Regions from separate parts of the Homo sapiens genome. Here all the other regions are linked to region 1. Evidence: promoter capture Hi-C in 16 types of primary human blood cells and fetal thymus (Javierre and others, 2016). All regions are on one chromosome and are shown on one strand. The core of a region is centred on a gene start or on the middle of the fragment in contact, and the rest is flanking DNA. Distances in the headings are between cores, read along the strand shown.

Region 1 (4,006 bases), core at 735-3,234:
TCCCATGTTCAAGCAATTTTCGTGCCTCAGCCTCTCCAGTAGCTGGGTTTACAGGTGCGTTCTACTACACCCAGCTAATTTTTGTATTTTTAGTAAAGATGGAATTTCACCATGTTGGCCAAGCTGGTCTCGAACTCCTGACTTCAAGTGATCCACCCGCCTCGGCCTCCCAAAGTGTTGGCATTACAGGTGTGAGACACCGTGCCTGGCCGGTATCCAGATTTTTAAGTTTGCCAGGTATTATGTGAGCCATAGTTCCAAAAGTGTATATGCTTCTCATGAGTGGATGGACAATGCTCCTGGCATAGAGTAGGCTCTTAAAATTTCCTCATTTTAATTACTCGATGAAGGCACAATTGATCTAAGTTACACAATAAGGGTAAGGTACTAAATCTATTTTGCTCACAAAGGTGCTAAGGTTTGGGCAAAATATAAATCATTTGTTTTTAATTTAACAATACCTTTTGAGGTACAGTAGGGTCCACAGTTTCCCAAGGTTCTGGATTTTTTTTTCGATCAAGGCTAAAATTAAAGAAAGCCAATTAAACATTAAAAGATGTGAATTTAAACCAACACTGATACTGGGTTTATAAACATGTTAGGGACAAAACCAGTCTCATACTAAGGCATGTGTCTGCTAATGATCAGGAACCATCAGTAGCAACTAAAATTGATTGAAAATTCTCTAAGGGAGTTTCATGGTGTGGCTCAAACATTAAACATCAGTTCCCCTAAAGGGTAGGAGGTCTGTATTCTCTTGATTGGGCTGCATTGGGGAAGGATCCCACAAACCAAATAACCATGGGAGTGAAACTGCCAAGCCAAGGACATGCAATAATGTTCTTATCTCAGTCTGTGGGAGGGGCAGGTTGAACTCTGCAGGTGGTGAACTCCAGGGCTCTAGGCTCCTCTGCCAGCGGTTAGAGGACTGCCCTCTCCAGCCCTGCACCAGCCTCCAACAGTTTCAAGTTTATCTTTTCCTCATATTCCAGGATACATGTTTTTGTTTTTTACTTTCTTCTACCCAAAGTTGAGATTAGGTTCATCGTAGACAACTGAATCTATCAATTCTACCACATTAGTAAAAATCTAATAAGCTAAAATTTAAAATTTTAATTAAAATGATTGTTTCATGATATATATCTCCCAAAACCACTGAAGAACTTTAAATTTCAAAACTTAAAAAAAAAAAAACAAGCTTTACTTCACTGCCAGAGAGTGGAGAAGGGCCAATGGGTAAAAGAATAAACACAAGAAATAAACTAATTTGATTAATATCATGGGTTTTTTTAAATTTTTTCTTTTTTTTTTCTAATTTTCATTTTCTGACCCATTGGTAGACAATATCATAAGAGTTTTCTGATAAAAGATGCTTTTTAACCCTGACTCCCAGTTCACAATTTGGCATTCTCATCCATGGGAAAAAAATAGGAAACTTATACATTTCATAAACTAAAAGTCATCCAAACACTGCCAAAAACGTTTTTATAAATTGAGACCTACTTACATCACATCGGTTTTCCAAAGAGAATACACAGCGAAAGATGAGGCTCCACCCGCCGCCACAGTCATGAACACCACCAAGGGAATGAGCTAACAAATAACAGGTGGAGGGGACACATTTGGACACTTCAATATGAAACATTTGAAACACAGCAAAACAACTGTATTTATTTTATACTTTGTTCAAAATCTGTGCCATCTTTTCATCTTTAAAAATGAAAACTTTAGTCAAGATTTTCAATTGTTTTTAAAACTTACTTCCTTCCTTTTCATCAGGAGTTGGAAAAAGCTCATGATGACTTCAGCGAAGAATTGCCAAATCTAGAAATTAAAAATCCAAAGTATTGATCGCCTGGTGGGCGCCAAACCGTCCACCGCGCTCCGCAGGCCAACTGCGGGCCGGCGCGTCCGCGTCTCTGCAGATGGGAGACTCACCTGGACGCCGGGCGGTGCGCACGGACGATGGTAACGCCCGGAACCGAACGGGCCGGCGGCCTCCCCACCTTATATATAGCGACCACAACCGCCCCGGGTGGGCCGGGCCAGCGCGCTCTGGTCACGCGCGTGGGGCGGGGAGCGCGAGGGACCTGACTCGCTTTCCCCGTTGGGCACGCGACTCCCGGGCGCCCCCTGCAGGACATTCTGCGGCTGACGTGAAGCGCCCGAACGCGGGCGCTGGCGCCCCCTGCCGCTCGCCGCGGTCTTCCTTACCTGCCGACCCCGGTCGCTCTTGGCCCCCCTAGGTGCTTGTGAGGAGTTTGGAGGTTTGGGGAGTAGGAGGTGGAACCCCCTAAGAGGGGAGCGCAGATAGCCGAGGCCTGAGGGAAAGCCAACCCTTCTAAAAGGGTATCCGGGCCTGGCGCGGTGGCTTAGGACTGTAATCCCAACACTTTGGGAGGCTGAGGCAGGAGGATCACTCGAGTCCAGCCTGGCCAACGTGACGAAACCACGTCTCTACTAAAAAAAATTAGCGGGCGTGGTGCTGCATGCCTGCAGTCCCAGCTACTGAGGAGGGCGAGGCAGGAGAATCGCTTGAGTCCAGGCCTTTGAGGTCGCAGTGAGCCAAGATTACACCACTGTATTCCAGCCTGGGCAACAGAGCGAGACCCTGTTTTAAATAAAATAGAATAAAACAAAATATTTAAATAAGCAAATAAACAATAAAAGGGGGTCCGGAAAAATGAGCTGCAGACCGGAGGGTCCCAGGAGAGGCTCCCAGGTGCAGGCGGGTAAATTAGAATTAATCCAATCACATTAAAAGCTCCAAAATGTGGTCTGTGCACCTATGGAGATCATTAAAATTAAATTGTAAAGTTTATTTCAGAATAACTCCCAGGGCGTCCTGACTTTTTCTGCTAAAAAAAAAACCCAAAAAAACAAAAACAAACAAATAAACACAATAAAACAAAAACCCGAGGTCGAGGGAGAACAAACAAAAGAATAAGCTGGGGAGGCTGTCAGGAGAAGGTCTTTCTGCAAACGACCCTGCCGGCTGGTTTAGTCTTTGGGTTCCCTCCTAACTCTCCTCTAAGCCAGCAACCTCACTTTGCAGTTTGCAGGCGGCTGCAATGGTAACAATTTCACAGAGCCAGGGGCTGTGTGTGTGCCAGACACTGAGCCAGATTCCCCTCGGCAAGGTGGGTGCAAAGTCTTATTAAGACTCAGAGAGGCTCTGGTCACGTCACTGGTAAGTGGCGGCGATGCCATCAGAACGCAGGTCTGTCTGGTGCCCAACACCATGGTTCTGTCTGCACCCCTCTGTTAAATACTGCAATAAGTAAAGGACCAGTTATTTTAAAACAAACAGTTTGAAGTTCAAGCTGTAAGTTAAAGTTAAAAGGCAACATCTTAACGTTCCCTGAAATTGGCTAGACCCTGCTGTGTTTCAACCCCATTTTCATTCTAAACCTGGGTTTTGTAGTCAAATGGACCTGAGTTCAGAGCCTGCCCCTGCTATACTTATTATTAATAGCTGACTTTAAGTAAACTACTTAACCTTCATGAGTTTCAGTTTATATATCTGCAAAATGGGGGCAAACCTGGCAGGGGAGAGAGTTGGAAAAAATGTTAGAATATATGTAAAGCATTCTGTCCTGCTTGTAGTAGGCACTCAACAAATAGTTACTATATGCAAAGATTTGGTTTTTTGTTTGTTTTGTTTTTTGAGCCAGAGTCTCGCTCTGTCACCCTGGCTGGAGTGCAGTGGTGTGATCTCGGCTCACTGCAACCTCTGCTTCATGGGCTAAAGCGACTCTCATGCCTCAGTCTCCTGGGCATCTGGGAATACAGGCATGTGCCACCACGCCCCGCTAATTTTTGTATTTTTAGTAGAGACAGGTTTTGCAACGTTGGCCAGGCTAGTTTTGAACTCCTGACCTCAGGTGATCCGCCCCCCTCAGCCTCCTAAAGTGCTGGGATTATGGGTGTGAACCACCACGCCCAGCCTCAAAGATTTGTTTTATGTAAGGCTGATCATAAATGTAGTTTCCCACTCCCTTACTCT
Region 2 (4,006 bases), core at 1,090-3,589, 250 kb before region 1:
GGGTATTCTACAAGGTAACTGGCCTGGAATCTTCAAAAATGTCAATGTCATGAAAGTAAAGAAAAAAATGTCAGAAGGCCTGCTCTATATTAAAGGGAACCAAAGAGGCATGACGCCCAATGCAGTGTGTGATCCTTGACTGGCTGGTGGATTTAAGGAGGGGCTGGGACAAAAAAGGACATTTTTAGGAAAATATACATAAATACAGGCTGGGCGTGGTGGCTCACGCCTGTAATCCTAGCACTTTGGGAGGCCAAGGTGGGCAGATCACCTGCAGCCAGGAGTTCGAGACCAGCCTGGCCAACATGGTGAAACCCCATCTCTACTAAAAATAAAAAAAATTAGCCAGGTGTGGTGGTGGGTGCCTGTAATACCAGCTACTTGGGAGGCTGAGGAAGGAGAATCGCTTGAACCTGGGAGACAGAGGTTGCAGTGAGCTGAGAGTGCGCCACTGCACTCCAGTCCAGGCAACAAGAGTGAAATTCTGTCCCCCCACCAAAAAACAAACAAACAAACAAACAAACAAAAATATATATATATATATGTACACACACACACACACACATAATATATACATACATAATATACATATATACATAAATACGATGAAGCAAATGTCACAAAATATTAATAATTGGTTAATACCTGAAGGGTATATGAGTATTATAATTTATTTCAAATTTGTATAGGTTTGAGATTTTTTTTTAAATAAAAAGTTGGAAGGAAATTAATATTAATAATGAAAAAGACACTCAGTGAGTTTCCTAGATGGTCTACCTTGAGGTTGAAATAGTCAGCAAAAGTAACACAATCTGTTCCACAGGTGTCTAATTCACACAAAACATGACCATACTGAAGGTCTTGTGTTTTATAGCATCCAGAGAAGACAGTTCCTGTCAGTAGAGGACAGAATCTAAAAGGCAATTCTCCCCATCACTGCTGGTGCAGAACATCGAGGTGAAGAATTTAGTTTTCCAGGCTGAGGCCTTAATCGTGTACCACTCAGGGCATGCTCCACTGTATTTGTCTTAACAGGACAATTTTCTGGTCTGCAAGCTTTCATTGACTTCCATGTGTTTTCTGGGAAAACAAATGCTCCTCGAGCTTTATGGTGTTTCAGGCAGAAGAAAAATAGCCAACCTGCCTGGTGTCAGAGGCAAAGATACCAGGGATGCCAGTATGGCAGTATGAGAAGTAACAGAATTCAAGAGAGCTAGAAAAGTGATGCACTCTAAGGCCCCCTCTTCTGACAACAACCCCTCTGACCTAGAAAAGGTAGATAAGATCATGCTACTCTGGGGCAAAGCACTCAAAAGGTATTTTTTGCTGTATATGACACTGGGTTCATTGACAACTTGCTTCTGTCTTAGGAAGGCCTTTTTTTTTTTTTTTTGAGATGAAGCCTTGCTCTGTCACCCAGGCTGGAAAGGAGTGGTGCGATCTTGGCTCACTGCAACCTCCACCTCCCGTGTTCAAGCAATTCTTCTGCCTCAGCCTCCTGAGTAGCTGGGATTGCAGGCGCCCACCACACGCCTGACTAATTTTTGTATTTTTAGTAGAGACGGGGTTTCACCATGTTGGCCAGGCTGGTCTCAAACTCCTGGCCTCAAATGACCTGCCTGCCTGAGTCTCCCAAAGTGCTGGGATTACAGGCAGGAACCACCGTCTCTGGCCGATGCCAAGCTTGTGTTTTTGTTACAATCATGCCTTGAGGTGACATATTTTTGAGAAAGGGAGAAATGGAGCTGGTTGACTTACCTACTGCAGCAGCGGTCTTTGACGTAGGAAGGTTGGTGCAGTCCCCAATCCCAAACACATTTGGGTACCTCCTGTGTTGCAGAGTTTCTTTATCCACATCCACCCAACCAGCAGCATCAGCCACAGGACTGGTCTTGAGGACATCTGGTGGGCTCATTGGAGGTGTGACATGAAGCATTTCATACTACACACAAAGAGAGAATCCACATTTTCATTTATTCAATATTTCTACAGCTCCACAAGCTCTCCCCCTACCTTCCTTACTCTATACACTGTGCTATGGCTGCATGGAGCATTATACAATCAGCACTTGTACCAGTCCACGCCCTCTCCAAGATCTTATGTGTTCTCCTGGGGAATGGTGATAAGCTAAATAACCATTCTCTCAGTTGACGTGATCTCCCCATACAGAGACCAAGAGAGCCCTGTGGACACACGTACGGGTACATGAGATATTGGAGTAAAGCTCACTAATATTCTGAAAAAATCCATTGATGTTTTTATTAGTACTAAAATAAGGGGGTGGTATATTTCAGTTGCAGTCTCCCTGACCCTCAGCTGTCAACTTGCAAAGTTTAGCACCTCAGCGTTATTCTGTAAGGTGATGCTCAGCATCCCTTAAACTTGTAAAGGATATGTTAGGAGCTGGTAAGAAAGCATCATTCCCAAATATGTGTCAACTTCAAAACACATAAAGGAAACTGTCAGAACACCAATTTAAGATGAAAAGGGGTGGTAAAAATATTAGCTAGCACTTTGGAAAAGGAGCAAGGGGTCTGATTCAGTACTGGATTTACTTTTCAGTGCAGAAGGCAGGGGTGAATTTTTTTCCAAAACACCGTATCAAGGTTACCTTTGGTAGTGGTGCACTGACCCATCCTAATCACTTTTGAGGGCTCATTTAATTTTTTTGTTTATGTAATATTCTTTCACGTTTTGTAGTTGGTTCTTATTATTCTTTTTATTTATTTTTAACAAACTCCTTCCAGCAAATTCATCAATTTGCTAGTGGGTCCAGTTAAGGACACATTGATTGAAATGTTCACGACATGTCATTAGGGTAAAAACTTAAGCAGTTGAAGACAATTCCAACCTTTTGAGATAGTCAATAGCCCTTCATTTCCACAAGAAGTCCAATGTTCCCATGCCCTCCGAGAGGCTCAGCAGTCACTGATGGCAATGGGAATTAGGAAGATGACTTGTACTTATTACAACTCTCAGACAAATATAAGCTTAATTAACCTCAGGGAAGGAGCACTGCAAATGGCTGCTGCTCATCTGCAGGATAACCTTGGGTGGAGGGTGGCTCTTGGGCACATGGGTCCCTGAGGTCAGGTCTGTTCATGAACGTTGAAACTGAATGCATGTTTGCAGGATAATGGATGAAATGGTCAACAGCTATCATCTACTAAATTATTAATCTCCTGTCTGCATTTCTGCAGTCAACTAGAACTACTTTTGAGACAGTGTTTCACTCTGTTGCCAGACTGGAGGACAGTGGCTTGATCATAGCTCACTACAGCCTCGAACCCCTGGGCTCAAGCAATCCTCCTGCCTCAGCCAGGAGGCACGCACCACCACACCCAGCTAGTTTGTTGTTGTTGTTTTTTCTTTTATTAGAGACTCGGTCTTGCTCTGTTGCCCAGGCTGGTCTCGAACTCCTGGGCTCAAGCAATCCACCTGTCTCAGCCTCCCAAAGTGCTGGGATTACAGGTGCAAGCTACCATACCTGACCTAGAACTACGTTTTTGAACTGAGGTCTAAACCTTACTAGAGTCATCTCGGTGGAGTTAATGTGTTTGAATTTCACAAGTACACACAAATTCCACAACTCTTTTCTAAAAGAAAAGCTAAATACTTTCATATAATCATCATAAAGGTATGGAGTTTTACCTGAGCTAACATCCTACAAAAGGGTCTACTTTATGGATTTATTAGAAATTAATGGCCAGGTGCAGTGGCTCATGCCTGTAATCCCAACACTTTGGGGGGCCAAGGTGGGCAGATCGCTTGAGCTCAGGAGTTCGAGACCAGCCTGGGTAACGTAGTCAAACCCCTCTCTACCAAAAACACAAAAAATTATCTAGGCATAGTAGCACATGCCTGTTGTCCCAGCTCCTCAGGAGATTGAGGTAGGAGGATGGCTTGCTTGAGGCTGGGAGGTGGGGGTTGCAGTGAGCCAAGATGGCACCACTGCACTCCAGCCTGGGTGACAGAGCAAGATCCTGCCTCCAAAAGAAAAAAAGAA
Region 3 (4,006 bases), core at 451-2,950, 240 kb after region 1:
TGTAATCCCAGCATTTTGGAAGGCCGAGGTGGGGAATCACTTGAGGTCAGGAGTTCGAGACCAGCCTAGCCAACACGGTGAAACTCCATCTCTACTAAAAATACAAAAAATTAACCAGGTGTGGTGGCGCACGCTTGTAATCCCAGCTACTAGGGAGGCTGAGCTGGGAGCATTGCTTGAACCCGGGAGGTGGAGGTTGCTGTAAGCTGAAATCGTGCCACTGTACTCCAGCGACGGAGTGAGACTCCGTCTCAAAAAAAAAAAAAAAAAAAAAAAGGCAGACATGAACCTAGGAGTGCGGAGACACTGAGGCAGTGGGGGAAAGGGGGTGGGGTAAAGTGAGGTGAGACAGCTGCTTTCCCAGCAGAGCCAAGAGCAAATGTGTTGGTGTTGGCTTCAGGCCTACATTTATGGTGAGGAACTGGCTTTATTTCTTTCCTTTTCTTTTTTCTTTTTCTTTTTTTTTTTTTTTTGAGACGGAGTCTCACTCTGTCGCCCTGGCTGGAGTGCAGTCGCGCAATCTCAGCTCAATGCAACCTCTGCCTCCTGGGTTCAAGCGATTCTCCTGCCTCAGCCTCCCGAGTAGCTGGGACTACAGGTGCCCGCCACCACACCCGACTAATTTTTTTGTATTTTTGGTAGAGACGGGGTTTCACCGTGTTAGCCAGGATGGTCTCGATCTCCTGACCTCGTGATCCTCCCGTTTCGGCCTCCCAAAGTGCTGGGATTACAGGCGTGAGCCACCGCGCCCAGCCGGAACTGGCTTTATTTCTAAGACAAAAATGCCTAGCACTTGAGCATCTGAGCCTCAAGAGGATAAGGAGTTTGTGATAGACAACACTGGGACTGTTTCTAGACTTGATTTATTGACTTGTCTGTTTCCATTCTGTTACTAATCTGATTGACAATGAAGCCCGGGATGTGGCTGGAAGGGATTTCTGCGTGCGTGCGCATGCTATCGTCAGGGCCATGTGGGCCCGTTTGGAGCAGGTGCTCCCGTGGGTGGGGGATGTTTGAGCGAGGGCTGTTTGCGTGTGAGAAGGGCGTGTGTGAAAACGACACGGGAGAAGTGGGCGTCTCTAGGGAGTTGTTTGTATGTGATGTGAGATGTGTTTGCCTGGATCGGGAAGTAACGTAGGTTCGGGTATGTGCAGTGCGTACGGTTGGATGGGAGGAGGTTGTGGGGCTCCCAAGGTAGCACGGGAGGAGGAGGCTTACAGACACATCTTACAGAACCTAGCCCCTTTTCTTGCCCGCCTAGATTTTCCTCCTAGATTATAGTTTCCCAGTTGCGAGATCCTGGGAGAGGGAAGAGGAGAGGCGTAAGGCTCCCTAGAGTCAGGAGTCTGGGGGCTCCCCTCTTTGCGTCTCGCACGAGCTGGGAGCTGGGGAAAAGAACAGATGGGGATGGATGCGCTCCCCACAGGGGACCGCGTGGCGACACGTAAAGGATTCAACCTCAGTCCAGTAGTCGCATCCTCTGCCCCAGGGCTGCCCACTTCACTTCTTGCCTGTGCATACCGGCTGGAAGCCCGCGTACACTCTTCCGAGCTACGGGAGGAGGAAGACCCTGTTAGGGAGCGGAGCCCCGCCTCTCCCTTGTTACTGAAGCGCCCCGCCCCCTCCCCGCCCGGCGGAGCCCCGCCCCCCTCCCCACCCCCGCCCCCGCCCCCCACCCGCCGCTGCGCTCCCCTCGCTCAGTCTGGCTGGCCCCATGTTACTGAGCGGAGCTCCTCCGGCTGGCTCCCGCCCGGGGCCGCGAACGCAGGGGAGCGCTGGGGGCGGCCCGGGGGGGTCCCGCCGGGGCGCCGGGGGTGCGGGAGCCGGCCCAGGAGGGGGCGGCAGCGGCGGAGTAGCCAAGTGGCTCCGGGAGCACCTGGGCTTCCGCGGGGGGGGCGGCGGCGGAGGGGGCAGCAAGCCGGCGCCCCCCGAGCCCGACTACCGCCCCCCTGCGCCCTCTCCGGCCGCGCCCCCCGCGCCGCCCCCGGACATCCTGGCCGCCTACAGGCTGCAGCGGGAGCGCGACTTCGAAGACCCCTACTCCGGGGGGTCGTCCGGCTCCGCCGCCCTCGCCACCCCTGTCGCCCCCGGACCCACGCCGCCCCCGCGCCACGGCTCTCCCCCACACCGCCTTATTCGGGTCGAGACCCCGGGGCCCCCGGCGCCGCCTGCTGATGAGCGGATCTCCGGACCCCCCGCCAGCAGCGATAGGGTGAGTGCCGCGCCGGGCCGGGATGGCCAGGAGGGAAGGCGGTCAGGGGTCTGGAGGCTGCGAGAGGGACAAAGGTGGCCTGGCCCGGGCCCCTCGGTGTCTCAGCTTCTGGCAGACGCGAGCCCCTGACCCCGGGGTTCCGAGCCTTCACCCACCTTTGTTCAGATTCTCAACCGACTAATCTGAGACGGAAGCCCCAAACTCTGCCCCTCTGCCCTATCCTTTGTAATGGCCCCAGAACTGGTGACCCTCCCCCTCCCGGGCTGGCTCTCCACTTCGTAGCCCCCTCTAGCCTGATCCATGAGCCTTTTGCTAACGGGAATTGAGGCGCACCTCCCAACCCCCACTGGTTGATGGCCTTTCTGCCCCTCTGGAAGCAGCGGCTCAGTGCCCTTTGATCTCTGACCCTTCCCCCTGGGCATAGCCAGCACAAAGCTCTTCCCTCCTGTTGCCTCTTTGCTTCCTCCTCCTCTTCCTCCTCCTGTTTCTCCAGCCTAAGCATCCTTGCAGGTGCTGAAGCCCCAGAAAGGAGGTGAAGACGGGTTTCTCCTTGCGGACACAGCACGAGCTGGCCTTTGCCCTATAGGCTGTTGTTCTCAGGAGGCGAAGACAGGCAGCTTACAGCTCTTGCCAAGGGGGCTTCGTGGGGTCCAGGCCCACTCCTCCCTCCTTCCCTCGTCCTCTCAGGTATGAGGATAGTCAGTGCTCAGGACCTGTTGCCCACATGGGGCTAAGCAGCTGAGCCCATTCCTCCTCTCCTCCTGGCCTCCCTCTCCCCCTGGTCCATTCTGAGGGAGGCTGGAGCTTTTCCTGGGTCTGCAGGCACCAGGATAGGGAGGAGAACAGGAAATCCACCATGCCTCAGGGCCCTGCCCTGATTCGGGTTGGCCTTATCCCTCCCTGGCAGAGTGAGAGCTGAAAGCCATCCCAGGCCCCTAAATTCTGTGATGATGACTCTGTGGGCTGCCTTGGCTCTGCTGTCCTTCTTCACTCACCCCGAGAGCTCAGTTCTGGGGCCTGCCCCCTTCTCCTCAGCAGAGAAGAACATTTTTATTTGATTGGAGTGCAAAGTTGCTTTCCGAATCCGTTGGCTCCAGGATTGAGGCTTTTTAGCTGAGAGAGCGCCGTTCCGCCAGATTTCCTGGATGAGAGAGATCTGTCAGGGTCAGAGCAGAAGCCTCAGGAATGCAAATTATTTTTCCCCTAGTTTTTGCCATGGGGCATGGCTGCCCATCCTGGGCCAGGATACTTATTCTGCAGAGGAAGGTTCAAGGGCACTTCTCCAAGGCTGTGCTCGTCTGCTTCTTGTCCCCTGCTATTGTGTGATGTGATGGAGGTAGTGACAGTGAGACAGAGGAGAGGGATAGGCCCTGTTCTTCCCACTGACCAGTCAGTCTCCTCCTCTCTAACCACTGCCTGTTTGGCACAGGCAACATGGGCCTGAGCTGTCTTTGGCCCTTCTCCTCTCTACAGTGGCTTGGATGCCCTAACAGGCTGCCCACCAAGCCATGGGCTCCTCCAGGACACAGACCATGTCTTCTTGTGTCTCCCAAGTGCCTGACACAATGCTTGACATAAAAAAGGGTACATAAATATGTCCTGAATGGTGACTGTCCATTATCAGGGTGGCGTGAGGGTCGGAGACTCCCCTAGCCACAGCTTCCCTTGCACATTTTCCCAGACACCCCCAAGGAAGGGGTGCACCCACACAGTTCTATGCAGAGACTCACAGCCTCTTCTTGCCAAGGGCCTCCATGCCTCAGCTTGGGTCAGCTCTGTGATCTGTGTGCTGTT
Region 4 (4,006 bases), core at 919-3,418, 230 kb before region 1:
CAAGAAGAAAACCTCAAGCCTTTTGAATGAGTTCAAGTTTTCAGGTCAGATGACCTAAACCCCCAGGAACAGCAAAAGCTTATAGACAAGACTTTTGAGCAGTTACGCACAACAGTGTAGACCTTGCCAGAAGGCTGAATATCTGCAAGTATTCTCATATTACACAGGGGTCAGAAGACGTAAACTCTGACACGAACATCTTAGTAAATAGGCTATTAATCCTTTGCAAAACTCTAGACTCAACTACTAAATAGACATTTCATAGTAATTTTTTAAAAGATTAGCTGGGCATGGTAGTGTGTGCCTGTAGTCCCAGCTACTCAGGAGGCTAAGGTAGATCGGCTCAGAACTCTTGAGCCCAAGAGTTCAAGGAGCAGTGAGCTGTGATCTCACCACTGCACTCCAGCCTGGGCAACAGAGCAAGGCTGAAGGGAGAGGAGGGGAGGGGAGGGGAGAGGAGGGAAGGGGAGGGGAGGGAGGAAGGAGACAAAGAGAGGAAGGGAGGAAGGAAGGAAGGGAGGGAGAGAGGAAGGAAGGAAGAAAGGAAGGAAGGAAGGAAGGGAGGGAGGGAGGGAGGGGGAAGGAGAAGGAAGAAAGAGAGGGGAGGAGAGGGGAGAAAGGAGAGGAGAGGGGAGGGGATGGGAGAAAGGAGAGGAGAGGGGAGGGGATGGGAGAAAGGAAAGGAGAGGGGAGGGGAGAGGAGGAGAAAGGAGGGGAGGGGAGGGGAGGGGAGAGGAGAGGAGGGGAGGGGAGGGGAGAGGAGAGGAGGGGAGGGGAGAGGAGAGGAGGGGAGGGGAGAGAAGGGGAGGGGAGGGAAGAGAAGGGGAGGGGAGGAGAGAGGAGAGGAGGGAAGGGGAGGGGAGAGGAAAAGGAGCACCAACATAGGTTCACAGATGATAAGCCTGCTGCTTTCAATCAGCAATCAAGAACTGCTGGCATATAGTAGATACTCAATAAATATATCCTTTTCCTTTTTATGTATTCTTTTAAAAATAACAGCAACATTTATTGAGCATTTACTCTGTGCAAGGTGCTGTTCTAAGTGCTTCATATGGTTTCATTCATTTAACACTCACAACAACTTCATAAGGTATCTAGGTACTATTATTATTATTATTTTACAAATGAAGAAACAGACACAATTTGCTCACAAATATTTACTGAGCACCTTCTATGTGCCAGATATTGTGCTAGGTCCTGGGCATAAAACAATGGACAAGAAAGATACACTTCCTGCCCTTCAGGAACTCCATCTAGTGAGTGAGATAGGCATTACCAGATAATGACACAAATAATTACTAAATCACAGAATGCTGTGATAGCACATCAAGGGATAACCTGACCTAGTCTGGGAAGTCAAGGAAGGCTTGCCTGAAGGAGTCATATCGAAGCTAAAGATGAGTAGCAGTTAGCTAGGGATAGAGGTGGAAGCAGCATGTGCAAATGTCCTGGGGTAAGAAAAAGGCTGAGGCATTTGAGGAAATAGGAGGCCAGTATGGCAGGAGCAGGAACAAGGAGAGAATAGAACCAGGTTAAGCCTGGAGAAGGAGCAAGGACCAGTCTACACAGGGCCTTGAGATGTGTTTCAGACAAACACACCCCCGGATCAGGGAAGAATCAGAGACACACTGAGTCTGGGTTTCAACAGTGCCTTCAGCTCAGTCTTTCACCAATAAGGTGGGAAAGTGTAAACTAAGAATGGAATGGGCTGGGCACGGTGGCTCACACCTGTAATCCCAACACTTTGGGAGGCCGAGGTGGGCAGATCATCTGACGTCAGGAGTTTGAGACCAGCCTGGCCAACATGGCAAAACCCTGTCTCTACTAAAAACACAAAAATTAGCTGGGCGTGGTGGCACATGCCTGTAATCCCAGCTACTCGGGAGGCTGAGGCAGGAGAATCACTTGAACCTGGGAGGCAGAGGTTGCAGTGAGCCAAGATCACACCACTGCACTCCAGCCTGGACAAAAGAGTGAGACTCTGTCTCCAAAAAAAAAAAAAAAAGACAGAATGGAATGATTTGGTCACTTGAATAATATTTGCTAAAGAAATGTTGACTAATTTTGTGCAATCTAAAAAAGCTCTCTAGTGACATGTTACAGAGTTAAAACTTTGAACTTATATGAAACCACCTGTGAATAACAGATAGAAAAATTGCTAATGGATTGACAGAGTCATAAATCCAAAAGACCCAGATGTGTTGGGAGGATGAATTAAAACCAGCAGGATGATTTCTCACATGAGATGTCATGTGTATTTCTGATATCTGGCTATGAAGTCGTTTTGCTTCATAAAATCTTGGAAGAAAGTCCCACTACATTGCACCAACTTCTCTGCCCTAAAACAAGACACTACAGCTTTCCTAAGTGTCTAACCTTAGGAGTAATAGGTAGGACTCAGCAGTGAGAACACCTAGTAGTGCCTGTCATTCCCAAGAGATGAGTAAAGTATATGGTCCTTGAGATGAGCATGAACCCAACCACCGAAGGCTCTAAAGCTCTTCCTGTAGCTTGAAGGGGTCCAAACAATGAGGCAGGCCCTGCTGTACCAAAGAGATGCTGTGTGTGATATGAGAGAGGTCTCCTGGCCCTGTGTTCAGGAGACTGGCAAGGTAAGAGAGCCACCAAGCTCAACCTTGTGATTGAGAACAATCTTGAGTGTAATTCAGTCTGGTCTCCCGGAGACATTGAGAAAAATAAGAAAGTTCTGAACTAGTAACAGGACAAAAGCCATATATAAAAATTTTAATTAAAATAAATATATATGCATATAGGTATTTGCTTATATATATTCATTTCTGCCTTTAGGTAAAATCAATAACAACTATACTTTTTCAGGATGGGGGAAGCCTGACTTGATCGTGGGTCATGTGAAAAGGGCCCAGCAATTTGCACCGACCTCAAGCCCAGCATGAATCAGCACCGTGGTAACTGTCACGAAAAAGGCAAATGCTAACTTATGCAGCATGAGATCATGGGAGAGAATGGCTCCACGCTATTCTGGGCTGTTCTGTAAAGTTGCCTTCTTTCCAGGCACCTCTTTCATGGGGCACTAACAAGCCAGATGGTGTTTAAAGCAGAATAAAGAGGGGGCTGGGGGGACTGGAAACCATGAAATGTGAGGAAGAATTGAGGGACATGAGGATGGGGGGGACACATATACCTAGAGAAAATTTACATAAAACATAAGAGCCATCTTCAAATAGCTGAAGGGTTTCTCCACAGAAAAGAGAGAAGACATTCTTCTCTCATACACAACAGGACAAAACAAGGAATAAAAGTATTAAGAAAGGTATTAAGTGTATTAAAAACAATAACATCCTGGGTGTCCAAGAAAGAATACAAAAAAAGTTACAGGAAGGTGGATTCTGGCTCAGTGAAGACAGAACTTTCATATAACCCACGTGTCTAAAAAGATGAAGAGTTAACTTATCAGAGAACTCCTTGGCCATGGACTATGTAAATACCAACCTATTTTAAATTCAATCCCCCACCTCCATGTGCCCCAATACCAATTAGCTCCAAATCAGCTCTATTTTTTTTCATGAATAACCATCACATTCTAACATACTATATAATTTACTTATCATGTCTATGTTGATTGTATGTTCTCCCTGACTAGAATATAATATCCAGTTCAATAAGAATTTGTGTCTGTTTTTGTTCACTACACATATCCTTAATGCCTAAAACTGCACCTGGCTTATAGTAGATGCTTAATAAATATTTGTAGAATGAATGAATGGAGGCCAGAAAGCCAAGGATCATAAATGCTATACAGCAGGTACTCTTTTTTTCTTTTTGTGTTTTTTTTATTTTTTTATTTTTTGGAGACAGCTCTGTCACCTAAGACGGAGTGCAGTGGCGCAATCACAGCTCACCACAGCCTTGAACTCCTGGGCTCAAGTGATCCTCCCACCTTAGCCTCCCAAGTAGCTGGAACCACAGCACACACCACCACACCTAGCTAATGTCTTAATTTTTTTTGTAGAGACAGGGTCTTACT
Region 5 (4,006 bases), core at 719-3,218, 220 kb after region 1:
TTTGGGGTTTGTTTGTTTGTTTTTTGGTTTTTTTTTTGAGACAGAGTCTCACTCTGTCACCCAGGCTGGAGTGCAGTGGCACGATCTCGGCTCACTGCAAGCTCCGCCTCCCGGGTTCACACCATTCTACTGCCTCAGCCTCCCGAGTAGCTGGGACTACAGGCGCCCGCCACCACGCCTGGCTAATTTTTTTGTATTTTTAGTAGAGATGGGGTTTCACCACATTAGCCAGGATGGTCTCGATCTCCTGACCTTATGATCCACCCGCCTCAGCTGGGATTACAGGCATGAAACACCGTGGCCAGTATGACTGAAATTTAGAAGAAAGTTTGGAAATAAAAGAAATTCAAGTCAGATTGTTGCAATTTTTGTATGTATCTTTCCCTTTTAACTTAAAATTACATTTGAAATTTGCACATTGTACCATCATGTCAAATGCTCAATGCTAACAATATCAGTATAACATGGATACGTCTCTTTTCATGCTGTTTTGGCTACCCTGACTCTAGAAAACATTATACACTTGATATTAGATCTTCCTCTTTTGATCTGAGAGACCAAAATGGATGCACCATTATCAAGTAAGACAGACTCAAAGCTTAAGGAAAGTAACTTACCTATGGGTCCAAGGTGCCGGCTGGCATAGCAAATTGCTAAATTCCTATGGCTAAGGTCTCTAATAATAGGAGCTATGAGCTCTGATTTACAACCCAGACCCCAAGTCTGATTAGACAGAGGACCAGCCTTACAAATATTCTTTTCTCAGAAGCTATTGCAGACCTTAAGCCAGTTTCAGACAGCTTATAGAGGCTGTGCACAAATTGCCTTGGTGTCCTATAGTTCATCTTTTGATGTGGAGCCAATTCCACCTCATTTCAATGCCAAAATCCTACCCCAAAGTGAACGTGGCATGTATGTTACATACATGTTTACCCATTGCCCATACATAGAGTTCCCTCATAAATATGTATAGCTTTTCCCCAAATCTGCTGAATGTGTATGACACAAGCTCTGTGAAGCATAAAACCCAACGTGTCCTTCCCCTCCTTGAAGAAAGAGCAGGCCAGGTGAGGTGGCTCACACCTGTAATCCCAGCCCACTGGGAGGCCGAGGTGGGTGGATCACTTGAGCACAGGAGTTCAAGACCAGACTGGGCAACATGGTGAAACCCTGTCTCTACAAAAAATACAAAAATTAGTTGAGTGTGGTGGTGTGTGCATGTGGTCCCAGCTACTTGGGAGGCTGTGATGGGAGGATGGCTTGAGACCAGGAATTCAAGGCTGCAGTGAGCTATGATCACACCACTGCACTCCAGCCTGGGTGACAGAATGAAATACTGTCTCAAAAAAAAAAAAAAAAAAAAAGAAGAAGAAGAAGAAAGAGCACCATTGGTCCACGTTGGAGACTTTCTCTTCCCAGCTGCAAACTGATATCACCAATATAGCTCTCCTTTCTACCATCTAGCCATCTTGGTGATCTTCTGGATGACACACTCAAGCCTCATATCCATTTTTTTTTATCCAACATGTTCATCCCCTCTACCTCCATGCTAAAGAGAAAACATCTATAGGTGTGATTTGAGGGAAGAGTCCCTCGTTCATCCCTAGATGAGTATTAGTCCCCGAGCTCCAACATCAACTACTAGTCCAGGGAGCAGAAATTCTCTTCTGTCTCTCCTGAATGAAGACTTTTATCAGGATATAATTATCCATTTACACCTAACCTTTCTAAAACACAGATATGACTATGTCTCTCTTCTGCTTAAAAATGGGAACTTAAATGCCCCTCTCCCCTCAATGCCTGACACAAAGCCTATGGACAGCCTTCAGGAAATTTGTGAATTCCTGATATTTTATCATAGGTGTATTACTTTGGAGAACAAGGCTGTGGCTGTCAATGGATCCCCAAAGCAATGTTACCACAAAATGTGAAGAAACACCAGCCTCCAGGAAAAAGGCCTGACTCAAGTAAGAGATTCATCAAAATTTGGCTCCAGCCTCTCACCCTCCACTCTCTCCTCCATATCTTTGTTGTTTCTTTGTTTGTTTGTTTTAGGGGGAATTACAGGCATGTGCCATTGCACCCATCTAATTTTTGTATTTTTAGTAGAGATGGGGTTTCACCATGTTGGCCAGGCTAGTCTCGAACTCCTGGCCTCAAGTGATCCGCCCTCCCCGGCCTCCCTCCCCTCCATATCTAATGTTGTAGCTACAACTTGTCTTTTCCTATGCTATCTGTGCATCATACTTCCTTGCTTTTACTTATGCCTTTCTCTTTGCCTAGAATACCCTTTCCTTTTTATCTTTTTTGAGACAGAGTCTCATTCTCTCACCCAGGCTGGAGTGCAGTGGAGCAATCTCGGCTCACTACAACCTCCGCCTCTCAGCCTTAAGTGATTCTCCTGCCTCAGCCTCCCAAGTAGAATATCCTTTCCCTTTCTTTTCCAGGAAAAGTACTATGCATGCCTTGGAACTCAGATCAAATGTTGTATCCTGGTAGAATCAACGATCTAAGCTCCAACACACTTTGTATATATGTCTGGCATAGTTCTAATTAGTTCTTCACTCATCTGATTAACCCCGAACTAAAATGATCTCAGAGTAAGAATGGGTCTTATTTAATTCATATCTCCAAGGCCTAGCACAGATCATACTAGGCACTACTGGTTATTGGGCAGGAGGATAGGTGTCAGCATGGACCATTGCCCAACAGAACAGGAACACATCTCCCTCTGAGCATGCCTCCTCAGACCCCCTACTCACCCAGGACCATTTCTGCTCAGCCTGATGCTTTGGCTCTCTGAACTCTGTAGTGAGCTTTGTATTTGCAGATTTTTCTGACCAGTAACTCAAAACTAATTTTGGAGACCAACATTGCCAATTTAAAACGTTTCCAAGAAAAGATGTTTTTTAAAACCTATCACTGGCTGGGTACAGTGGCTCATGCCTGTAATCTCAACACTTTGGGAGGCCGAGGCAGGTGGATTACCTGAGGTCAGGAGTTCAAGACTAACCTGGCCAACAAGGTGAAACCCCGTCCCTACTAAAAATACAAAAATGAGCTGGGTGTGGCGGCACATGCCTGTAATCCCAGCTACTCAGGAGGCTGAGGCAGGAGAATCGCTTGAACCTGGGAGGCAGAGGTTGCAGTGAGCCAAGAGCAAGACTCCGTCTAAAAAACAAACAAACAAAAACAAAAACAAACAAAAAAACACCTATCACCTACTTTCTCCATAGTTTTATAAAAGTCACTTTAATACCTCAAAAATAAAAAGGTCATTGTCTCAGCCTAGAGGACAGTCCTTTGGATTAAATGCATTTAGCATTTTAAAAGCTTACCACATTGACCTCATTTTTTCATTCAGTGGTGAAAAGTTTGTCCTAGTTTATCAGTTCTAAAAAGTTTGGAAACCACTGATTTAGACCTTTGCTTCTGCAAGGCAGCTCCTGCATTCTTCCTGACTCAGGAATTAGTTTCAGGTCTCATGCCAGGAATAAAGTCCTGCACCATCTTTCCCTACAGTTTCTTTTTGTGGATATGGAGAGAAGTACCTAGAAACAAGAGACCGACTACAGCATATTGAACAGTCTATGCTGGTCACTTGACTTTGGATGAGGGGCAAATCTCAGTTGACAAACTCAGCTCAAAAATAAACTACTCTAGGCAAGAAGTATCTTATACAGCTTTGCAGCCCCCAATGACTTAAGAACTAAGAGATGCTAGTTTATGGGAAGAATGAAGAATGAATGAATGAATGAATGAGTGGATGGATGGATGGATGGATGGATGGATGGATGGATGGATGAATGGATAGATAAGTAGATGGATGAAATCTGAGTCCTCATTACCCAGAGAATCCCTGTGGAACAGGCTCAGTTAAGTCAGAAGTGGTATGTTGCAAATTAAATGAGTCTTTTCCAGCCTCAGCTTTTCACTACTACTTCCTGGGGCACAGCGCCTTCTAGTGGAAATCCAGATGTGCTGCCTCCTCCCTAGACGGCCCTAA
Region 6 (4,006 bases), core at 1,507-4,006, 220 kb before region 1:
AATTGATTGTGTCCCTCCTTCAAAGGATGGGAATGAATGCTTTGATATGACTGCAGTCTAACTGGAGAAGTAAAGTCCCTGTTGATTGAAAGATAAGACAGCGGACTGGGCATCCCCTACTTCCATCACTGGCCCCTAGTTCCAGACCTGGTCTGGACAAGTCTTTGGGACTTCATACCTTTCCACTACAGCCCTTCCTGGACAAGCAATACAGACTGCCTGTGTCAAAAGCTTCCTAATCTTATGTCACATGACATGGTTTGTGAGCAGCCAGGGCACCTGGCAGAGTTCAAACAGAGCTGCTGGCTAAGCAAGAATTACTCAGAGCATTCTTAATGAAAGATTCACCAAGCCAAGGATTGTCATCAACCCTTCAGCTATTTTTGCTTTTGAGGACACAGTGGGTCTTTGATTTACAATTGTTTCCTCTCAAGCCTAGGCCAGGCTGGGCCCACTCTGCTTTGGGTTTCAATAACCACAGGGCCAACCTTTAACAGATCACCTTTGTAGAACACTTCCAAAATCAAAGAGGAAAACAGTCTAATCATTAAACAGTGTCCAGCTCTTGTTGCCTACTCTGTTCTTCCCGCCAGACCTGGCCCAAGCTTACTGTGAGCTGTTGGTCTGGATCTCTGTAGCTTCCTGTCTCAGGGCACGAATGAGCACTGTGTACACGGCACAGGTCAGGCTTACACCTGGTGCCCAGGTGGAGGGACTGTTGGAAAACTCCTCCTCCTCCTCAACTAAATCCTCCCACTTGGGCTTTCTGGGCGTATTTAATTAATTAAGTCAGCCCTAATGCTATTATCAGTTATTTACACCTCTTAACCAAATATTTTCTTATTTCAAATCCAGAAGACAGGATTTGGTAGGAAAATAATCTATTCTGGCTGGGTGTGGTGGCTCACGCCTGTAATCCCAGCACTTTGCGAGGCCAAGGTGGGCGGATCACGAGGTCAGGAGATGGAGACCATCCTGGCCAATATGGTGAAACCCCGTCTCTCCTAAAAATACAAAAATTAGCTGGGTATGGTGGCACATGCCTGTTATCCCAGCTACTGGGAAGGCTGAAGCATGAGAATCGCTTGAACCCAGAAGGCGGAGGTTGCAGTGAGCCAAGATCGTGCCACTGCACTCCAGCCTGGTGACGGTGGCGCAAGATTCCGTCTCAAAAAAAAAACAAAAAAACAAAAAAACAAAAAACTATCATTGAAATAATAACTAACATTTATTGTTTACCAGTTGTACTTGTGCTGTCTCAAAGACTCCTCATAACCTTATAAATAAAATCCCCATTTTACAGATGATAAAATTGAGGGTTTGAGTAGAGATAGAGAACTTGCCTAAGGTCACATGACTAAGCAACAGAACTTAATTCAAACTATCTAATAATTCAGGAAAAATGCCTGTTGGCTGAAATTATTTTATTTTATTTTGTTTTTGAGACAGTCTTGCTCTGTCACTTGTCGCCCAGGCTGGAGTGCAGCAGCATGATCTCCACTCACTGCAGCCTCCGCCTCCTGGGCTTAAGCGATTCTTGTGCTTCAAGTCTCCCGAGTAGCTGGGATTACAGGCACCCACAACCACGCCCAGCTAATTTTTCTACTTTTAGTAGAGGCGGGATTTTGCCATGTTGGCCAGGTTGGTCTCAAACTCCTGGCCTCAAGAGATCCACCCGCCTTGGCCTCCCAAAGTGCTGCGATTTACCGGCCTGAGCCACCGGGCCTGGCCCAAGCTACTTTAAATTTGAATGAAAATAAAATAATCCCAGCACTTTGGGAGGCCAAGGCGGGCGCACTGCTTGAGCTCAGGAGTTCGAGACCAGCCTGGGCAACAGGGCGAAACCCCATCTCTACTAAAAGTACAAAATTTAGCCAAGCGTGGTGGTGTGCTTCTATAATCCCAGCTACTAGGGAGGCTGAGGCAGGAGAATCACTTGAACCCAGGAAGAGGAGGTTGCAGTGAGTGGAGACTGCCTCACTGCACTCCTGCCTGGGCCACAGACAAAGACCCTGTCTCAAAAAAAAAAAAAAAAGTTAAAGTAGCTTGGTTGAATCCCATGGAGTGAGGTGGGAGGTGAGAGTGAATATATGTTTTGTTTTGTTTTGTTTTTTTCTAACAGAGTTTCACTCTGTTGCCCAGACTGGAGTGCGGTGGCATGATCTCGGCTCACTGCAACCTCCTCCTCCCGGATTCAAGCGATTCTCCTGTCTCAGCCTCCTGAGTAGCTGGGATTACAGGCGCCCACCACAACACCCAGCTAATTTATATATTTTTAATAGAGACTGAGTTTCACCATGTTGGCCAAGCTGGTGTCGAACTCCTGACCTCAGTTGATCCACCAGCCTCGGCCTCCCTGTTACTAAATTTTAGCTTACTAAATAAACTGAAAAGAAAGAAATTAAGTTTTTTTGGCAGAGAAGGGCAAGGTACAATAATAGTACTGATTTAATTTTTTAGGAGTCTTTATCTTTCAGAAATATACACCGAGATTCTTATAGTTGAAATGACTCGGAATTTGCTTGAAAATATTTTAGGAGGTGTAAGTGGGTAGGGGTGTAGATGAAACAAAATGGGCCATGAGTTGGCAATAATTTGAAATCAGTGGATGGATATATATGGGCATTCCTTGTGGCAGTCTATTTTTGTACATGTTTGATGAAAGTTTACACAATAAAAACTTAAAATGAGTGAATGAATGAAAAATTTAAAAAAACTATGTCAGAGTGAACACTGGTTTTGCTCTTTAGTCACTGAAATGTTAAGGTTTGGGCATATTTCAATAATAGCAAGATATTAGCAATACAAGTAATAGCAACACAACTTATAATCATACATCCTCCCATGTGCATAGAGCTTTACAATTCACAGGGCCCAAACCTGAGCCCACACCGGAAGTATTGATATCACTTTACAAATGGGAAAACTGAGTTCCAAGAGGTGAAGTCACTCAAGGGTTTCACACAATGCATCAGCAGCAGGGCCAGAGCTAGCATGAATTCTTTTTCTGACGAGCAACTTTTTCTGAATATCCTTTGCAGCAGCAATGCAGGCATTAGCAGGAGCTAGCAATTCAGAGAAGGAGCAATTCCCAGTCTGCACCTTCCAGCTCCAGGGATGGCCTCTCTGCTGCGATAGGGCAGAACAGAAGAGTCCTGCATCTCTGGGTGGCCCCACATGCTGTCTCCTAGAGGGGCCGGCCTCTAAGCAGGGGCAGATCTGGGTTTTATGGGCATTGAACCCTATACAATTTGGGGCTTCAAATCTGGGGTTTCATAACCCAAAATTACCAATACAAAATTAGATACAATATCCAATATGTATTTTGAATGAGAAAGTAAATCACAACAAATACCTGTATCCTTGGTGAGTCAGGACCCTTTGTTCTGCGATCTCTTTTAGAAAATGTATCAGAAATACAAACATAGCAATGCTTGCTAGTTACAAGCTGGCTGCCTCCTGGAACATGGGAAAACTCCCTGCACCCACAGCCAATAAAGGGTCAAAACAAGATTTAACTGGAGGAGGTGAAAGGAATGAGGGAGGCAACCAAAGCAAACATCATCATTTCCCTATTACATGAAGGACATTCCTGGAAACTGGCTCACAAGATTATAGAAGCTAAGTCCCAATTCTGTAGTCAGCAGGCTGAAGACCCGGGAGAGCCTATGGTACAGTTTCAGTCTCAAGGCCAGCTCAAGACACAGGACAAGCCATGTTTCAGTTGACTCTCAACACAGAAGAACATCCGATATCCCAGCTCCAAGACACTCAGGCAGGCAGGGCTGATTGTCTCTCATTCACGGGAGTGTTCGCCTTTTTGTTCTACTGAGGCTTTCAGCTGATTGCGTAAGGCCAACCCACATTGGGGAAGACAATCTGTTTTGCTCAATCTACCCATTCAAATGTTACTCTCATCCAGAAACCCCCTCACAGGCACACCCAGAATACCGTTTGACCAAATTTCTAGGCACCCCATAGTCCAGTCAAACTGGAACATAAAATT
Region 7 (4,006 bases), core at 1,029-3,528, 150 kb after region 1:
ATGTATATACTTATGGTTGTCTTTGAAAAATGTCACTTGTCCTTTTAGAGAGGGATTCTAAAAATACTGATGTATATACTTATGGTAGTTTTGGAGTTTCCTTCTCAAGTGGACTCAGCCTCCCCTTCAATCAATGGGCTATGGGTTTCTAAACTGACTTAGACTTGGAAACTAGCTGAGGGAAACCAATGTTCCATTGTGATGGCTGATGTCAGCCTTCTGCTTACCAATTCATGCATTTATTTTATAAATTAAGTAATATCCTACATGGCTGTCCATCTGTCTCAACCCTAGGAATACTCAAATCTACTAATTGTTGCCAAAAATATTTATGGGTCAAGGCACCTTGATTGTCGTACTGGCATTGCTGCCCATTATGGTAATTGTATTTACCTTTGCTCTGTTAGTTGAGTGTTATTTGGCTTCTGGTATTCTGGAATTCCATCAACCCTTTTGATACTAGAGATCCGTGTTCCATGGCAGTATCCCCCACTCTTGGCCTTGACAGGGCTCCTTTCACCAATGTATTTCTTATTCCTTAGTATAAGGAAGTTCCCTGGGCTCTTGGAGTATATAGACAGGTGGCGGGTTAGCAGGTCTTAATACATAGTAAATATATTCTAACGTTCTCATTTTCCTATGACTTTTGATCCCTTCTCCAGTACAATGCCAAGATTATTTCTGGTGTGTCCAAGCTTCAAGGAAACAGCACAACAAACTATTTATAGTGACCTCAAGTGCTCTTGCCAAAACACTGGATAACCACTCATGAATGTATGCCCTCAGGTAATGAATTCTCTCTTATAAAACCTTATTTTATGCACTCACTCTCTCTCTCTCCCCAGTCTTACATTTTCAAGATCTACTCCCACCTACATTACCCTGATTCTGTTGACAAAGAGTCAAACTCTGTAAAATATTTTAAGAGGTTTATTCTGAGCCAAATATGAGTGATCATGGCCTGTGACACAGCCCTCAGGAGGTCCTAAGAACACGTACCCAAGGTGGTTGGGGTACAGCTTGGTTTTATATATTTTTAGGGGGGCATGATACATCAATCAAATACATTTAAGAAATATATTGGGCTGGGCATGGTGGCTCATGCCTGTAATCCCAACACTATGGGAGGCTGAGGCGGGCAGAACACCTGAGGTCAGGAGTTTGAGACCAGCCTGACCAACATGGCAAAACCCCAGCTCTACTAAATATACAAAAATTAGCCAGGCTTGGTGGCGTGCACCTGTAATCCCAGCTACTTGGGAGGCTGAGGCAGGAGAATCGCTTGAACCCAGGAGGCTGAGGCTGCAGTGAGCTGTGATCACGCCACTGCACTCCAGCCTGGGTGACAGAGCAAAACTCCATCTCAAAAAAAAAAAAAAAAGAAAGAAAGAAAATAAAATAAAATACATTGGTTTGGTTCAGAATGGTGGGACAACTCAAACCGGGGGCTTCAGGGTATAGGTAGATTTAAACATTTTCTGGTTGACAATTGGTTGAGTTTATCTGAAGACCTGGGATTAATGGAAAGGAATGTTCAGGTTAAGAAAGAGGATTATGGAGAGACCAAGTTTTATTGTGCAGATAGCAGACTTCAGAGAGAGAGCAGGTTATAAAATGTTTCTTATCAGACCTAAAAGGGTGTCTGGCTCTTAGTTGATTATCTCCTGGATCTGGAAAGAAAGGAAAGAAAACAAAGGGGGAAGGGGATTCTCTACAGGATATGTATTTTTCCCACAAGAGACTTTGTAGGGCAATTTCAAGGTATAGCAAGGAAATATATTTTGGGGTTAAATATTTCTTCCTTGTCTCAATGTTATGCCAGAGTGATTGAAAAGTAAGTCACGATATATAGGGTCAAACAAAACCCATCTGATGAGAATTTATGGTTTGTAGGACATGACTCCCTAGACCCCTTAGGTAGGAATTTGGGCAGATAAAAAAATTAGAGTTTAGTCCTCAGTTCTTACATATTCTCCAGGTCCTACAGTTCCTTTGGAATGGAGGCTAACTCCTTCTGGAGCAGGACCTGTACTTCCCTGCTCAGGCTGTGCTGAGCTCTGGCACAGATTACCAGACTGGAGGCAAAAAAGGCAGAGAATGGAGGCTTATCTTGGGAAGAACGAAAGTTATTCTGCAATGACCTATTTTGGATGGGCAAGGGGAGGCTGTTTTCCTTAGTCAAGAGAAAAGGGTTTTGCTGACAGCATTATAAATAAATAAATAAGAAAGAAAAGGGACTGCTTCTGCTGGCCAGGAAGATTTAGGGACAATTAGGAGCTCCAGATTTTGAGGCTCATCCACTCACATATTTTATTTATTTATTTATTTATTTTTGAGATAGCGTCTTGCTCTGTCACCCAGGCTGGAATGCAGTGGCATGATCATGGCTCACTGCAGCCCCAACCTCCCGGCTTCAAGCGATCCTCCTGCCTCAGCCTCCCAAGCAGCTGGGACCACACCTGGCTATTTTTTTTTTTAATTTTTTTGTACAGACGGGGTCCACTATGTTGCCCAGGCTGGCCCTGAACTTGTAGGCTCAAGCAATCCTCCTGCCTCTGCCTCCCAAAGTGCTGAGATTACAGGCGTGAGCCACGGTGCCCGGCCAGGGAATCTTGTTAACATGCATATTCTGATTCAGTGGGTCTGGGGCGAGGCCTGAGACTCTGCATGTCTAGCAGGTGATGCTGATGCCTTGGGTTCACTGGTCACTCTGCCACTCACATATTTCTTATTCAGGTCTTAACGCCTCACATTTTTCTTTTCTGGAAAATACCTCCACATGGGAAAGCTGTTGAAGCTATGCATTCAATACCTTTAGCAGCTTTGCCATTCTGGATCCTGAACCTAATTTCTTTTCTTTTCTTTTTATTTATTGTTTTTTTTTTTGAGTCAGAGTTTCCCTCCTGTAGCCCAGGCTGGGGTGCAATGGCACAATCTTGGCTCACTGCAATCTCTGTCTCCCGGTTCAGGTGATTCTCCTGCCTCAGCCTCCCCAACAGCTGGGATTACAGGTGTGCACCATCATGTTCAGCTAGTTTTGTATTTTTAGTAGAGACAGGGTTTTGCCATGTTGGCCAGGTTGCTCTTAAACTCCTGACCTCAGGTGATCCACCCACCTCGACCTCCCAAAGTGCTGGGATTACAGGTGTGAGCCACTGCACCCAGCCCTGAACCTAATTTTTTTAAATTTTTTAAAATTATACTTTAAGTTCTAGGGTACATGTGCACAATGTGCAGGTTTGTTACATATGCTTACATGTGCCATGTTGGTGTGCTGAACCCATTAACTCATCATTTACATTAGGTATATCTCCTAATGCTATCCCTCCCCCCTCCCCCAACCCCACTACAGGCCCCGGTGTGTGATGTTCCCCACCCTGTGTCCAAGTGTTCTCATTGTTTTCAACAGTGTCTAACCTACTGCTGCAAGAGATGAGTCTCCTTTATGGCTGCCACAGAACTCCTCTGGCTTTCATATTGTTACTTAGTTGGCAATATGCTGCTTTAAACTATCATTTTCTTTTTCCAAGACTTCCAATGCTCTCAAGAGCAGCCAGTCTATTCTCCACTCTGTGCCGTTATTATTGCTCCCATACTGATCAAATACAGCAGCCACATAATATCCTAATTCCTTATCTTCTATCTGCACCTCATCCCAGTCAACTGGAGGTGAAAGCCTTAGTAATTGTCATGCATGCCCCTGCATGGCAGGGTTATACTATCCTGTTTACCACTGGGGAAACAGTTCTGATTGCCTTTAGATAGGTGGGCTAGTCTCTAAAATCACACTTTTAAAGGTCTGCTTTTAAAGACTACTCCTGGTACTAGCATTTTTGAGCCTACAGTCTCAAGAAAAGCTTAGAGCAAAAATATGCACATTTTTGTGATGGATGCTTTATTGATTGGTGAAATTGCAGGGAAGAAAGTATGACGAGAAAAAAGAAGTGAGGTAGGGGAGATGTAAAAACAAAGAGATGTGCTACCAAGATGGCCATAGCTTCACTGC

The links. The method cuts DNA at HindIII sites, captures the fragments that hold promoters and counts their contacts. A CHiCAGO score of 5 or more calls a contact.
Region 2: a contact is called between a fragment that was not itself captured here and the fragment with the promoter of COXFA4L3 in region 1, in 4 of 17 cell types (M0 macrophages, M2 macrophages, monocytes and 1 more). The highest score is 13.6, in M0 macrophages.
Region 3: the fragment with the promoter of SHF here is called in contact with the fragment with the promoter of COXFA4L3 in region 1 in 11 of 17 cell types (M2 macrophages, erythroblasts, M1 macrophages and 8 more); the score reaches 9.3 in M2 macrophages.
Region 4: a fragment that was not itself captured here is called in contact with the fragment with the promoter of COXFA4L3 in region 1 in 3 of 17 cell types (M2 macrophages, M0 macrophages and monocytes); the score reaches 10.8 in M2 macrophages.
Region 5: a contact is called between a fragment that was not itself captured here and the fragment with the promoter of COXFA4L3 in region 1, in 15 of 17 cell types (M2 macrophages, total CD8 T cells, fetal thymus and 12 more). The highest score is 11.3, in M2 macrophages.
Region 6: a contact is called between a fragment that was not itself captured here and the fragment with the promoter of COXFA4L3 in region 1, in 15 of 17 cell types (M2 macrophages, M0 macrophages, monocytes and 12 more). The highest score is 29.2, in M2 macrophages.
Region 7: a fragment that was not itself captured here is called in contact with the fragment with the promoter of COXFA4L3 in region 1 in 2 of 17 cell types (monocytes and total B cells); the score reaches 7.3 in monocytes.

What each region holds. Positions count from the first base shown.
Region 1 is chr15:45,428,588-45,432,593 of GRCh38, reverse strand. It overlaps COXFA4L3 (cytochrome c oxidase associated subunit FA4L3), which reads right to left and starts at 1,984. Exons shown (of 5, transcript NM_197955.3): 1 at 1,939-1,984; 2 at 1,762-1,824; 3 at 1,508-1,593; 4 at 462-522. The coding sequence starts at 1,797. RefSeq lists a silencer at 1,962-2,041. The HindIII fragment of the contact is 4,531 bases long and covers 1,201-4,006 here.
Region 2 is chr15:45,680,414-45,684,419 of GRCh38, reverse strand. It overlaps SQOR (sulfide quinone oxidoreductase), which reads right to left. Exons shown (of 10, transcript NM_021199.4): 7 at 1,759-1,942. Among named protein-coding and RNA genes, the nearest start is that of SQOR, 47 kb to the right of the region's middle. The HindIII fragment of the contact is 1,307 bases long and covers 1,686-2,992 here.
Region 3 is chr15:45,185,660-45,189,665 of GRCh38, reverse strand. It overlaps SHF (Src homology 2 domain containing F), which reads left to right and starts at 1,700. Exons shown (of 7, transcript NM_001394037.1): 1 at 1,700-2,212. The coding sequence starts at 1,715. It overlaps LOC124903481 (a long non-coding RNA gene), which reads right to left. Exons shown (of 2, transcript XR_007064608.1): 1 at 3,208-4,006; 2 at 848-1,551. RefSeq lists a silencer at 1,756-1,805 and an enhancer at 2,720-3,272. The HindIII fragment of the contact is 22,026 bases long and covers 1-4,006 here.
Region 4 is chr15:45,663,584-45,667,589 of GRCh38, reverse strand. All of the region lies in intron 3 of SQOR (sulfide quinone oxidoreductase), which reads right to left. Among named protein-coding and RNA genes, the nearest start is that of SQOR, 31 kb to the right of the region's middle. The HindIII fragment of the contact is 4,176 bases long and covers 81-4,006 here.
Region 5 is chr15:45,205,283-45,209,288 of GRCh38, reverse strand. No RefSeq gene overlaps it. Among named protein-coding and RNA genes, the nearest start is that of TRH-GTG1-9, 6.1 kb to the right of the region's middle. The HindIII fragment of the contact is 2,735 bases long and covers 601-3,335 here.
Region 6 is chr15:45,645,358-45,649,363 of GRCh38, reverse strand. The region is part of intron 1 of SQOR (sulfide quinone oxidoreductase); the gene reads right to left. Among named protein-coding and RNA genes, the nearest start is that of SQOR, 12 kb to the right of the region's middle. The HindIII fragment of the contact is 4,297 bases long and covers 608-4,006 here.
Region 7 is chr15:45,282,365-45,286,370 of GRCh38, reverse strand. No RefSeq gene overlaps it. Among named protein-coding and RNA genes, the nearest start is that of SLC28A2-AS1, 5.1 kb to the right of the region's middle. The HindIII fragment of the contact is 3,162 bases long and covers 698-3,859 here.